5 separate regions of the Homo sapiens genome follow, and regions 1, 2, 3 and 4 are each linked to region 5. The links are contacts of gene promoters, found by promoter capture Hi-C in blood cells and fetal thymus (Javierre and others, 2016). All regions are on one chromosome and are shown on one strand. Each heading gives the region's core, a stretch centred on a gene start or on the middle of the fragment in contact. The rest is flanking DNA. Distances are from core to core; before and after follow the strand shown.

The links. The method cuts DNA at HindIII sites, captures the fragments that hold promoters and counts their contacts. A CHiCAGO score of 5 or more calls a contact.
Region 1: a fragment that was not itself captured here is called in contact with the fragment with the promoter of SCARF1 in region 5 in 1 of 17 cell types (erythroblasts); the score reaches 5.1 in erythroblasts.
Region 2: the fragment with the promoter of YWHAE here is called in contact with the fragment with the promoter of SCARF1 in region 5 in 1 of 17 cell types (neutrophils); the score reaches 5.7 in neutrophils.
Region 3: a fragment that was not itself captured here is called in contact with the fragment with the promoter of SCARF1 in region 5 in 1 of 17 cell types (M1 macrophages); the score reaches 5.5 in M1 macrophages.
Region 4: a fragment that was not itself captured here is called in contact with the fragment with the promoter of SCARF1 in region 5 in 4 of 17 cell types (M1 macrophages, M0 macrophages, megakaryocytes and 1 more); the score reaches 8.3 in M1 macrophages.

What each region holds. Positions count from the first base shown.
Region 1 is chr17:1,884,973-1,887,672 of GRCh38, reverse strand. The region is part of intron 13 of RPA1 (replication protein A1); the gene reads right to left. Among named protein-coding and RNA genes, the nearest start is that of RPA1, 56 kb to the right of the region's middle. The HindIII fragment of the contact is 153 bases long and covers 1,235-1,387 here.
Region 2 is chr17:1,398,785-1,401,484 of GRCh38, reverse strand. YWHAE (tyrosine 3-monooxygenase/tryptophan 5-monooxygenase activation protein epsilon) reads left to right here and starts at 1,263. Exons shown (of 6, transcript NM_006761.5): 1 at 1,263-1,438. The coding sequence starts at 1,375. RefSeq lists enhancers at 765-1,402, 1,403-2,040, 2,041-2,678. The HindIII fragment of the contact is 7,246 bases long and covers 1-2,700 here.
Region 3 is chr17:1,782,283-1,784,982 of GRCh38, reverse strand. SMYD4 (SET and MYND domain containing 4) reads left to right here. Exons shown (of 11, transcript NM_052928.3): 8 at 522-657; 9 at 1,507-1,623; 10 at 1,825-1,948. Among named protein-coding and RNA genes, the nearest start is that of SERPINF1, 22 kb to the right of the region's middle. RefSeq lists an enhancer at 834-1,128. The HindIII fragment of the contact is 1,609 bases long and covers 638-2,246 here.
Region 4 is chr17:1,859,546-1,862,245 of GRCh38, reverse strand. The region is part of intron 5 of RPA1 (replication protein A1); the gene reads right to left. Among named protein-coding and RNA genes, the nearest start is that of RPA1, 31 kb to the right of the region's middle. The HindIII fragment of the contact is 481 bases long and covers 1,196-1,676 here.
Region 5 is chr17:1,644,476-1,647,243 of GRCh38, reverse strand. It overlaps SCARF1 (scavenger receptor class F member 1), which reads left to right and starts at 1,512. Exons shown (of 11, transcript NM_003693.4): 1 at 1,512-1,647; 2 at 2,005-2,066; 3 at 2,309-2,410. The coding sequence starts at 1,547. It overlaps RILP (Rab interacting lysosomal protein), which reads left to right. Exons shown (of 8, transcript NM_031430.3): 7 at 255-338; 8 at 625-1,094. The coding sequence ends at 802. The HindIII fragment of the contact is 11,256 bases long and covers 1-2,768 here.

The sequences.
Region 1 (2,700 bases), core at 62-2,561, 240 kb before region 5:
CAAGTGATCCACCCACCTTGGCCTCCCGAAGTGCTAGGATTATAGGAGTAAGCCACCATGCCTGGCCCTTTTTCATTATTATCATATCTGTTATGGTGATTTTTTTTTTTTTTCTGAGACGGAGTCTCGCTCTGTCACCAGGCTGGAGTGCAGTGGCATGATCTCAGCTCACTGAAATCTCCGCCTCCCAGGGTCAAACGATTCTCCTGCCTCAGCCTCCCGAGAAGCTGGGACTACAGGCATGCACCACTACGCCCAGCTAATTTTTGTATTTTTAGTAGAGACGGGGTTTTAACCACGTTGGTCAGGATGGTCTCGATCTCCTGACTTCAGGTGATCCGCCTGCCTCAGCCTCCCAAAGTGCTGGGATTACAGGAATGAGCCACCGCGCCTGGCCTACAGTGATCTTTAACGTCACTATTGTAGTTGTTCTGGGGTGCCACCAACTACACCCATATAAGATGGGGAACTTATATTGATGAATGTTGTATGTATGCTGACTGATCCTCCAATCAAGTATTCCTGTCTCTCTTCTTTGAATACACAAATAAGAAAGCAAACAGCCTTACTGCTGATATGGAGTAAGCTGTAGTGGTCTAGATAGAATATCAAGCAAGCCACAACATTCTCTTAAGCCAAAGCCTAACCCAGAGCAAGGCCTCACCTTTCTTCAATTCTGTGAAGGCTGAGAGAGGTCAGGAAGCTGCAGAAGAGGCCAGGTGCAGTGGCTCACACCTGTAATCCCAGCACTTTGGGAGGCAGAGGCAACATGATTGCCTAAGCCAAGGAGTTCGATACCAGCCAGGCAACATAGTGAGACCTAGTCTCTACAAAAATCTGTCAGGGCACGGTGGTGTGCACCTGTAGTCCCAGCTACTCCAGAGGCTGAGGTGAGCTGTGATTGCACCACTGCACTCCAGCCTGGGTGACAGAGTGAGACTCTGTCTCAAAAAAAAAAAAAAAAAAAGCTGCAGAAGAAAAGATGGCAGCCAGCAGATGTTGGTTCATGAGGTTTAAGGAAATAAGCCGTCACCATAACAAAAGTGCAAGGTGAAGCAGCAAGTGCTGATGGAGAAGCTGCAGCAAGTTATCCAGAAGATCTAGCTAGGACCACCAATGAAGGTGGCTGCACTCAACAACAGATTTTCAACGTAGACAGAATAGCCTTCTGGAAGAAGATGCCATCAAGAACATTCGTCCTAGAGAGTAGAAATCAATGCCTGGCTTCAAAGCTTCAAAGGAAAGGCTGACTCTCCTGTTAGGCGCGAATGCAGCTGGGGACTATAAGGTGAAGCCAGTGCTCATTGACCATGTCAAAAATCTTAGGGCTCATAAGAACTATGCTAAATCTACTTTGCCTCTGCTTTATAAATAGAATATCAAAGCTTGGATGACAGCATATCTATTTATAGTGTAGTTTATTGAATATTTTAAGCCCACTGTTGAGACCTACTACTCAGAAAAAGAGACTCCTTTAAAAATATGACTGCTCATTGACAATGCACCTGTTCACCCGAGAGCTCAATGGAGACACACAGTACGAGGAGATTAATATATTGACAATGCACCTGTTCACACAAGAGCTCAATGGAGACACACAGTACAAGGAGATTAATATATTGACAATGCACCTGTTCACCCAAGGGCTCAATGGAGACACACAGTACAAGGAGATTAATATATTGACAATGCACCTGTTCACCCGAGGGCTCAATGGAGATGCACAGAACAAGGAGATTAATATTGTTTTCATGCTTGATAACAACATCTATTCTGCAGCCCATGCAAATCAAGGAGTAATTTTGACTTTTTAAGTCTAAGAGACATATTTCATGAGGCGATAGTTGCCACAGTGATTCCTCTGATGGATCTGGGGAAAGTAAATTGAAAACCTGAAAAGGATTCACCATTCTAGATGCTATTAAGAACAGTTGGCTGGGCACAGTCGCTCACACCTGTAACTCCTGGCACTTTGAGAGGTTGAGGCAGGGAGATCCCTTGAGCCCAGGAGTTTGAGAGCAGCCTGGGCAACATGACACAACTCAGTCTCTACAAAAAATACAATTAGCCAGGTGTGGCAGCACCTGTAGTCCCAGCTTGGGAGCCTGGGGAGGTTGAGACTGCAGTGAGCTGTGATCAAGCCAGTGCACTCCAGCCTGAGTGACAGAATGAGACCCTGTCTCAAGTTAAAAAAAAAAGGAACATTCATGATTCATGGGAGGAGATCAAAATCCCAACATCAACGGGAGTTTGGAACAAGTTGATTCCAACCCTCAAGGTAGACACTGAGGCTTCAAGACTTTGGTGGAGGAGGGATCTGTAGATGTGACGAAAATAACGAGAGAACTAGAATTACAAATGGAGCCTGAAAATGGGCCTGAACTGCTGTAATCTCACGATCAAACTTGAACGGATAAGGAGCTGCTCCTTACGATGGGCAAGGAAAGTGCTTTCTTGAGATGAAATCTCTTGTGGTGAGAACGCTGTGAGCATTGTTGAAATGACGACAAAGGATTTAGAATTTGCATAAGCTTGGCTGATAAAGCAGTGACAGGACCTGAGAGGGAGAGACTCCAGTTTGAAAAAGTTCTCCTGTGGGTAAAATGCTGTCAAACAGCATCGCCGGCTATGGAGAAAGCTTTTGTGAAAGGAAGAGTCAACCAATGTGGCACACTTCACTGCTGTCTTATTTTAAGAAAC
Region 2 (2,700 bases), core at 14-2,513, 250 kb after region 5:
TCGTTTTTTTTCTTTTTCTTTGTTTTGAGACAGAGTTGTGCTCTTGTTGCCCAGGCTGGAGTGCAATGGTGTGCTCTCGGTTCACTGCACCCTCCCACTCCCGGGTTCAAGCGATTCTCCTGCCTCAGCCTCTGGAGTAGCTGGGATTACAGGCATGCACCACCACGCCCAGCTAATTTTTGTATATATATATAATTTTTCTTTTGAAACACAGTCTCACACTGTCGCCTGGGCTGGAGTGCAATGGGAGGATCTCGGCTCACTGTAACCTCCGCCTCCCGGGTTCAAGAGATTCTCCTGCCTCAGCCTCCTGAGTAGCTGGGATGACAGGCATGCACCACCATGCCAAGCTAATTTTTTGTATTTTTAGTAGAGACGGGGTTTCACTATATTGGCCAGGCTGGTCTCGAACTCCTGACCTTGTGATCCTCCCGCCTTGGCCTCCCAAAGTGCTGGGATGACAGGCATGAGCCGCCGCGCCCGGCCAGGGCCCGGTTCGTTACCCTGAGTCTAAAAGTGTCTGAAAAAGGCCCATGACCAGGCTTGGCCGAGAAAACTAGGACGTGGGCTGGGCGCGGTGGCTCACCCCTGGAATCCCAGCGCTTTGGGAGGCCGAGGGGGGGCGGATCATCTGAGGTCGGGAGTTCGAGACCAGCCTGGCCAACATGGTGAAACCCCATCTCTATTAAAAATACAAAAGCTGGGGGTGGTGGCGGGGGCCTGAAATCCCAGCTACTCGAGAGGCTGAGGCAGCAGAATCACTTGAACCCGGGAAGGCGGACGTTGTGGTAACCCGAGATCGCACCACTGCACTCCAGCCTGGGGAACAAGAGGGAAACTCCGTCTCAAAAAGAAAAAAGAAAAAAGAAAAAAGAAAAGAAAACCAGGGCGCGGTAGTGACAGCCTCAGATTTCGGGAAAGAAGACCTGCCATGACAGAAACCGTTACAGCCTCCGTCGTTCTTTTCCGCAGGTCGGGCCTCGGGCCCCGGTCTGACCCAGGTCTCTCGCTGGCTTTTTTCAGGAGCAGTCCCGGCCGGCCCCGCCTCAGCCCTTCTCGTTCCCCGGGGGCCGCTCCCTTTCGGCAGTCGCAGTTCCCGCCTCTGGGCTCCGGCGCCCGCTGAGCCGACAGAGGAGAGGCGTCTCGTGCGCTCGTTCCAGCCGCTTCGGGCGCCGAGTTCCAGGACCCGCCCCCCGCGCCAGTTGCCAGGGAGCGGTTGCCATAGAGCTGAGCAGTTGTCCGCGTGCGCAGGCGGAAGTCCCGGATTGAGGCGCCGCCATTTTTGCTGCCCGGACGCGGAGCGAGAGGCTGAGAGAGTCGGAGACACTATCCGCTTCCATCCGTCGCGCAGACCCTGCCGGAGCCGCTGCCGCTATGGATGATCGAGAGGATCTGGTGTACCAGGCGAAGCTGGCCGAGCAGGCTGAGCGATACGACGGTGAGTTGGGGGGGCAACGGGGGGCTGGAATTCTCGGACCCTCTGCCGCCGCCCACAGAGGCCGGGAACAGGAGACAAAATGGCGGCATCGTCTGCGAGCCTGGCCCGGGGGCTTGGGTTCGGGAAGCAGGAAATGGCCTGGGAGCTCCCGGGGCGATGGGAGGCTCTATGCCCTGGAATGTGACCCCTTCGCCGTCCTTAACTGCAAACAACTCGCGGGCCGGGAGGCCGGGGCGACGGGGTGGAGGAGTTGGTTGTAAAATGGCGGCTGGGGGGAGGGCGAGTCCCGGGGCGGGGGAGGGGGAGGAGATGGCGGGTGCTGTCTCCGAACGAGCCACCCTCATGGGAGCTTCTGGGACGGCCTTGGGATGTGGAGAACAATTGGGTGGGGTGACGGGGGAAGCAGCACCCGCCACATGGGAGAGAGCGAAGACCGGGAGCTGTAGCGCGGGCGCCTTTCAGGGAAATATGGCGGGTGGGGGCGGTGGCTTTTCCCCGGAGGCCCCGTGTGGGGCGGCGGCCGTGGAGTCTCACAAAGGAGGACCTTTGAGAGCGATGGGCTTCCTCAGGCCTGAGGTGGGGGACAGTCGTGGATGATGGTGGGGGGAGAGGGGTGAGTGGGAATCACTGCAGTTCGTCTTCGGGCGGTGGCAGGCTCCCATGCTGCGATCGGGTTTCTTTCCCGTAGGCCGGCACCTCGTAGTGAGGGGTTTCGGGGCTTTTCCTCCTCGTCGTCTTCTGGGGAGGCCCAGAAAATCCTCACTCCCTCCCTTTCCTCAGACTTAAAACAGGAGATCTCGAAGTTCCTGTAACCTTTCTCTGGCTCCATCACCCGTGGGTTCTGATGGATAGAACCAGGAGGCCACGACTCTGAGAGTTCGAGCCTTTGTAGAGCCCGAGCCTCCGTCCCCCCGTTTGTAAAAACGATGACTTTACAGTTTGTGCGCACCGTGATGACAAATGGGAAGACCTGTTGAAATAAAGTTATTTCCAATAGTGTTCAGTAACTGTATTTTGGTTGACTCTGCAGGCTCGGAATGCTGGTCTGTACTTCGTGGGGGATCTTAACCTATTCCAGGCGCTCGGCTGAGGCTGGGTTTTTTGAGTTATGAAGGTTGAAGATCCTGTTGCTTTCTTTTTTTCCGTTTTAAATAAATGGGTTTATGTAGAAATATTAGTAGGTCCTCTTTGTTCGTTGTTCTTTTGCCCCTAATGGGTTCTCCAGTCCTTTTTCAGAACTTCATCGAATGTCCATTGTGTCT
Region 3 (2,700 bases), core at 193-2,692, 140 kb before region 5:
ACCCCGTCTCTACTAAAAAAAAAAAATAAATAACACACACAAAAATTTAGCCGGGCTTGGTGGTGGGCACCTGTAGTCCCAGCTACTCGGGAGACTGAGGCAGGAGAATGGCGTGAACCCGGGAGGCGGAGCTTGGAGTGAGCCGAGATCGCACCACTGCACTCCAGCCTGGAGACCGAGCGAGACTCCATCTCAAAAAAAAGAAATGTTTGTCATCTAAAGTCCTGGCCCCAAAAAGCGACAAGAGGGGCTATAGAAGTGGAAAGAAATTGTGCACTGTACCAGTTCTGTTCCAAAAATGAAATCTCAGGTGGGATCAGCTACTGCTGATACACTTCATTAGAATTGCCGCCATTGCCGCCATCAAACAAAATTCGCTCAGACTTTCGTCACGATGTATTGTTACAGGAGTCTCTTTCCCCCATGAGGTAAGAAACTATGGAGCAGTCCTGTAATGTAAGCACAGGCGGTGTTGATAACTGACCCTGGCATTGGAATAAAGAGAAAACTGACTTCCACAGGGAGATGACGTGCTGCGCTGTGGCAGCAGATCTTGTGCAGAATCCGCCGTCAGCAGGGACCACCTGGTCTCTCGGTTACAGGACCTACAGCAGCAGGTCAGAGTGGCCCAGAAGCTTCTCAGAGATGGTGAACTAGGTGAGACTGGCTCCCTGCTTTGGTCCTCCAGCCCCTTCCCTTTTATTTGTTCTGATACCGTTTTGGACTCAGGGATACTCAGTACTGATGGGAGAATTGGATGTAATTATCCCCATGCCAGCCACAAGATGGCTATATAGGCCAGTGAGTCCAAACCCTGACCAGCTTTGTTACTGTGGGGCCCTTGAAAAGGGGCCAGGTGATTTCAGCTGTTGTTTTCTTCTGCATCTGATTGCTAAGTTGAAGTACCCCTGCCAACTAACGGGTCATCGCTGACATCCGTGAGCTGTGTGCAGTTCCAGAAGTTGAGTGTCATTTATTTTAATTCCAGGGCCTAGTGATGTAACTTCCTAGAAGGGCGGTTCTTCCCTCCTCAGAGCTAGTCTCTGCTAGAGAGCAGTGGGGCGTGAGCCCAGCTGATAGGAGTGTCTTGCTTTTGTCTGAGACTTGCGGAGCTCCCCATTGCCCTTGAAAACCCTGCCTTAGAGCTTGACATCATGGGATTTTTATTTACCCTGCTTTATGAAAGTTGACCTTTAGCTTAGATTTCAGGGTCAAGAGAAATCATGGCCGTACGTGAAAGGTAGAGTTGGTCGAGTTGGGAAGTTAATGTTGAAAATACAGTGTAAATGTGGGGAGGCCTCCCCTAGCGCCTTTCTCCACTGACAGAGAAAACAGAAGAAAACAGCAGCTTTATTGGAACAGACATTGTGCGTTGGTGACAACCCAGGGAGGCCAGGGGGAATTTCCACATTCAGCCCAGCTGATTCAGAGGATTTGAGACCTGGATTCTCATTCCTAGGACTGGGCTTCTGTCTATAGTGAGACGTCTTTCCTCTGCATTGACAGAGCGAGCTGTTCAGCGGCTGTCGGGGTGCCAGCGTGACGCCGAGAGCTTCCTGTGGGCAGAGCACGCCGTGGTGGGAGAGATCGCGGATGGCCTGGCCCGGGCCTGTGCTGCCTTAGGTACAGCATGAGCCTTCACGTTCTGCGTCGGGAACAGTCTGCTGTGGGCACTTCGCCGTGGCCCCGGCCTTGTCTGCCTGGTTACCCCCCGCTCTGTAAACTGAGGGTGCTCCCCCTCTCGTTCCATTTCCTCCCCCTGAAAATATGCATCCACAGTTGACAGTGGTTCTTTTCTGGAACAAGATTTTTCTCTTCTCACAGGAGACTGGCAAAAGTCAGCCACCCATCTACAGAGGAGTCTCTACGTGGTGGAGGTTCGCCACGGGCCGTCCAGTGTTGAAATGGGCCATGAGCTCTTCAAATTGGCCCAGATCTTTTTCAACGGGTGAGTCCCTTTCCCACTTCACAGGGCACACACTGTTCCTTTCCTAGGCTCTTCTGGGTATTACTTTTTTTCTATGGTGTTTTTAAAAGCATGTTGAAACTTCTTTATTTCCTCTTTAGGAGAGATCTTTGCCTTCTGTTTTGCTAACAAACATAACGCTTTAGAATTTCCTCCTGGGAGGCGGAGCTTGCAGTGAGCCAAGATCGCGCCACTGCACTGTAGCCTGGGCGACAGAGCGAGACTCCATCTCAAAAAAAAAAAAAAAAAGAATTTCCTCCTGGGAGATATGGGGAAAGCTTTTAGATCTCAAGTGAGTTTCCCAGAGAGAACTTGGCCAGGCAGCCCCACCCACCCTCCAGTATAGCTCTCCTTCTGGTTGTTCTCTGGTTCGTCACAGCCCCTTTGGCTGTCTCATTCCCAGCACTCTCAGCTCCAGGCTCTCTGCCTTCTCCCTACTCTGCATCCTCTTCCTTTTAAAGCGTTTGCTTGAACCAGGGCTGATTTTACCCCCAGACAACATGTGGCATTGCCTGGAGACTTTTTTTTTTTTTTTTTTGAGAAGGGGTCTTGCTGTCTTGCCCAGGCTGGAGTACAGTGGCTCGGTCACAGCTCACTGCTTCCTGCAACTCCTGGGCTCAAGCGATCTCTGGAGACATTTTGGATTGTCATGACTTGGAAGGGGGGTGCTGCTGGCATCTATTCGAAAGAGGCCAGAGGTGCTGCTAAGCATCCTCCCGGGTACAAGACAGTGC
Region 4 (2,700 bases), core at 187-2,686, 220 kb before region 5:
CTGGACAACATAGACTCCATCGCTACAAAAAAAAAAAAAAAAAAAAAAAAATACGGTTGGGGGCGGTGGCTCACGCCTGTAATCCCAGCACTTTGGGAGGCTGAGGCGGGCAGATCACGAGGTCAGGAGATGGAGACCATCCTGGCTAACACAGTGAAACCCCGTCTCTACTGAAAATACAAAAAAAATCACCCGGGCATGGTGGTGGGTGCCTGTAGTCCCAGCTACTCAAGCAGGAGAATGGCGTGAATCCGGGAGGTGGAGCTTGCAGTCAACCGAGACCGCGCCACTGCACTCCAGCCTGGGCGACACAGTGAGACTCCGTCTCAAAAAATAAAAAAATAAAAACAAAAATTAGCAGGGTGCAGTGGTGCACGCCTGTAATCCCAGCTACTGAGGAGGCTGAGGCAAGGAGGATTGCTTGAGTCCAGGAGGCGGAGGTTGCAGTGAGCCAAGATCACGCCACTGGACTCCAGCCTGGGTGACAGTGTGAGACTCTTAAAAAAGAAAAAAAAAAAAGAGAGAGCACCACATTCTAATCTCCCATAGCGTGAAGTTAATAAACAAATGTTTCAACTGAAAAAATTAACGAAGAGCAGCACAAATGTGTTATTTAGAAATATGGAGACAAACAGAGAAGAAACAGCTGTGAGATTTGAAACAGACTGTCTCTAGACAGGAGTCAGAGGCCAAAGAAAAGTGAGGCAGGAGAATGCTGTTTTGTTTTTAAGGACACACCTCGCAAAAATATTCAACTTTTAAAACTACGTACCGGACAAATGGAGCAACAGAGACCAGGTTCACCCTAACACCTAACATAACCCCCTCCCCCCACCAGAAAGGGAGAAAATACGTGAGACGCATGGTTTTCAATGAGGGGTAGCGCCTGCTGTGCACAGGAAAGCGAGCGAGTGGGTCTGCACCAGCTCAGTGCCTCAAGGGCTTAGGGGGCCTGCCAGAACCCGAGGTGCAGAAATGGGGGCCGAGAGTCTGGGGAGATCGCCGTCTAGCTGGCCGGACAGAGTAGCAGAGAAGAGAGGGCTGTACACAGAGAACTCCAGAAATGGGTGGCAGGTTTCCTGGGTAGTCAGCAGAGTCCTGGTTGGCCCGTGTGTGTGTGTGGACACGATCTGAGGCCAGGGTGAGAATCATCTGAGAAGGCCAGAGGGAACCATGCCTGTGTTTACAGCAAGCTTGAAATAGTACCTGTTTCTACCAGTCAGATGGGAAAAATTCATATTCATGGGGCACGAGGTAGAACAGTCTGTCAGGTCTCGATTCAGTATTGGGAATAACTACACCTAGACTAAATGCAGCTCTCTGATTCTCTAATAAATCTTAAAAGCAACACACCAAAAGATCAAACTGTCTCCAAGTTAACTGTATCCCTGAAAAAAGCTCAAGAATAATTACAGGATTACAAAAGTTTCTAGCACCCAACGAGGTACGAATCCCAATGTCTGGCATTCGGTCCGAGGGCCAGGCATGAAAAGCAGCAGGAAAATATGATCCATGATCGGAGAGGCCGGGATCAACTGACGGAAACAAATCCGGACCTAACACAGACACCAGAATCCACAGACAAGGACCTTACAACAAATACTGTCATTGTGCTCTGTATGTCCCAAAAATTAAGCAGAGATGTAGATGAGTTTTTAAAGACCCAAAATCAAGCTTCTAGGGATAAAAACTATACTATCTGAGAAGAAAAATACACTCAATGGGATTAACAGCAGATTAGGCACTGCCTGAGAAACCATTAGTGAACTTGAACGGCTAGCAATAGAAAGTATACACAATGGCCAGGCACAGTAGCTTATGCCTGTAATTCAGCCTTTTGAGAGGCTAAGGCAGGAGGATTGAGGCCAGGAGTTTGAGACCAGCCTGGGCAACAAAGTGAGACCCCGCCCCTACAAATAAAAAGAAAAGAAATGAGCCGGGCGTGGTGGCACTGCCGTCCCAGCCCCAGTCCAGGCAGTCCACAGGCAGGCCCGGCACTCCACCTCCCAGACTACAGGTGCAGCCTGCAGTCCCAACTACTTGGGAGGCTGAGGCAGGAGGATTGCTGGAGGCCAGGAATTCAAGACCAGTGTGGGCAACATGGCAGGACTCCATGTCCACAAAAAATAAAATTAGGCCAATTATGGTGGCTCACGCCTTTAACCCCAGCACTTTGGGAGGCTGAGGCGGGCAGATCATGACGTCAAGAGATGGAGACCATCCTGGCCAACATGGTGAAACCCTATCTCTACTAAAAATACAAAAATCAGCTGAGCATGGTGATGCGTGCCTGTAGCCCTAGCTACTCAGGAGGCTGAGGCAGGAGAATCGCTTGAACCTGGGAGGCGGAGGTTGCAGTGAGCCGAGATCACGCCACTGCACTCCAGCCTGGCAACAGAGTGAGACTTCGTCTCAAAAATAAATAAATAAATAAAAAACAAAATAAAATTAGCTGGGCGTGGTGGCACATGCCTGTAGTCCCAGCTACTCAGGAGGCGGAGGTGGGAGGATTGCTTGAGCCCAAGGTGTTGAGGCTGCACTGAGCCGTGAATGTACCACTGTACTCCAGCCTGGGCAACAGAGCAAGATGTTGTCTCTAGGAGAGAAAAAACAAAACAAAACAAAAAAAACGCCAAAGTGGCTATGCTAATATCAAAGCAGACTTCAAAGCACAGAATTTCCCAGGGATAAAATCATTTC
Region 5 (2,768 bases), core at 263-2,762:
CGCTTGAACTTGGGAGGCGGAGGTTGCAGTGAGCTGAGATCGCACCACTGCACTCCAGCCTGGGCGACAGAGTGAGACCCTGTCTCAAAAAAAAAAAAATTAAAAATTAAAGGCTCGACATCCTGCATCTCCCCAGGGTTGCCTTCTCTCCAGCCCCGGGGGCCCTGCAGTCCCTCCATCCCCCCTGCTGGATTCCTGTTGTCCCTCAGGGCCTTGATCAATGGCCCTCACTTCTCCTCTCTCCTCTGTCTCAGTGAGGATGAGGCTGGCCCATGGATCCTGCTCTCCGATGACAAGGGAGACCATCCCCCACCCCCGGAGTCCAAAATACAGAGTTTGTATGTTGGGGAAAGGGGAAAGGCAAGAGTGTGGGGAGGGAGGAAGGGCCCTGGCTGGTCCTTCTCAGGATCCCCTTTCCCGCTTCTCTGCCCGTCACCCTGCTGTGCTTGGCTCTAAGCACACCGTCCCCTCCTGCTTCTCTGGCCCTGGCCCCCATCACCTTCACACTCCCTCAGGCTGCCCTTTCTTCCCCCTCTCCCCTTTTCTCACCATCCCCTGCCCTCACCCATATCCTTGACCTCTCTGGCTTCCTGGCTCAAAGTGCCTCTGGCTGTCTCTCTCCAGCTTTGGCCTATGGTATCGGGGTAAAGCTGAATCCTCTGAGGATGAGACCAGCAGCCCTGCACCCAGCAAGCTAGGGGGAGAAGAGGAGGCCCAACCACAGTCTCCAGCTCCTGATCCGCCCTGTTCTGCCCTCCACGAACACCTTTGTCTGGGGGCCTCAGCCGCCCCAGAGGCCTGACTTAGGGGTCTGGCTGTGGAAGGATGTGTGGCCTCAAATGAGGACAGGGCTCCCGCCTTCACAGCCCTCGCCAGGGGTCTGCCCCAATCCTGGCCTGCATCAGGGCAGGACGGGGTCTCAGCCCGCCTCCCTCTCTACGTCTCTGTACCGAGCCTCTGGGGCCAGATATAAGAGTGCCTCTCTGAGTCTCAGTTTCCCCATCCATGAAATGAGAGCTGACTGCCTAGCTCCCAGGGCTTTGTGCAGACGGCCTGAGCTCATGTAATAAAGAACTGCCCGTAATACACAGAAACTGTTCCTCGCCTGTCTGTCCATGTCTGTGCCACCTCCCAACCCTGCCAGGAGCAGAGGCAGGCTGAGGGGTCCTCGCTGGTCTCCTTGCTCAGTCACTGGGTGGGGTGGCTTCTTGCAGCTCAGGCCTTGCTTTGGGAGTGTGGCCTGATGGAAAGCCGTGGCTCCCAGCCTCAGTCCACCCCCTTCCCTGGCCCCGGCACCCAGGGACCTGCAACTTCATTCTTCTGGCCCTTCCAGGCCCAGGCCAGTCAGCCCTGCCATTGCCTTTCTTTCCCTTTCTTTTTTTGAGTGTCAGTCTTTCCAGCCACCCCCTCCCTCTCAGGGAGGTGCCTCGTGGCAGCCCGCCCCTCCGGCCTGGTTTCCTCAGGAAAAGCCCTGAGAGGAAGCAGGGAGGGGGTTGGGAGCTGTGGGGGCCAGACGAACCCGAGCGCTCCCACCGAGCTGCCTGCCATGGGGCTGGGGCTGCTGCTCCCGCTGCTGCTGCTCTGGACTCGGGGGACTCAGGGGTCCGAGCTGGACCCCAAAGGGCAGCACGTCTGTGTGGCCAGCAGGTGGGTCTCGTGGGAGTCTGATGCGTGTGGCCAGCAGGTGGGTCTCGTGGGAGTCTGATGCGGGTGGCTGAACCGGTGTTGAGGCCGTTAGGGGAAGGAGGAGACTAGGAAGGGGGCTTAGGCTGAAAGGAAGGGACTGCTGATGGCGGTCTGGCAGGTAGTGGCCAGCCAGGGCAGATGGTGGAAGGGTCAGGGAAGGAGAGGGGAGGGGCTGGGGACCCTAGCTGTAAAGATCCATTAGGCCTCCCCAGGGGGCTAAGGCAGCCTCCCCCACTGCAGCCAGAGACAGTGATCCACCTTCCTCAGGGCCAGGCTGCACCCCCCACCATGTCCGGCTGACCCCTTTTTGCCCCACAGCCCCTCTGCTGAGCTGCAGTGCTGCGCAGGCTGGAGGCAGAAGGATCAAGAATGCACCATCCGTGAGTAGCCAGGACAGACCCTCAGCCAAGGAGAAGGGAGGCCGTAGCCCAGTGACAACCCTTCCTTCCTACCCCATGGGGCCTGCCCCTCCTGATACCAGGAGTCAGGGTTTCTCCTGTGACGCACCCCCAGGCCTGAAGGGGCACCTCTTGAGGAGGCATGGCCCCTGGAGCCAGTGAGAGGGCAGGGGTGTCCCCTGGTCCTGCTCCCGTCTTTCCAACCTGGGTGGGGTGTCTTTCAGCCATCTGTGAGGGGCCGGACGCCTGCCAGAAAGACGAGGTGTGTGTGAAGCCGGGCCTCTGTCGATGCAAGCCTGGATTCTTTGGGGCCCACTGCAGCTCCCGTGAGTCTCAAGGGCCAGATGAAGTTGCTGGGCAGAGCTGGGTACGGGGGCAGTGGTGTGGGAGCAGGCGAGGCAGGTAGCCATGCAGCCTCAGGACAGCAGGGCCAGAATCCCCCCCAGCTTCACTGAGGAATTGCGGTCCAGAGACAGGAAGTGACACACACTCCCGGGAGATGACCTGAGTCACCGGGTTTTTACCCACATCCACAAAGCACTGCCCACCTGAGCATCTTCCTCTTCCACTTCTCAGAAAACCTGTGATTCCCCTTCATTGTAAAATGAGTGTATTACTTGCCTTTCCCACATATACCTTATACATGGGCAGTGGATGGAAGGGGGCCCCTGGCTGGGCTCTCTG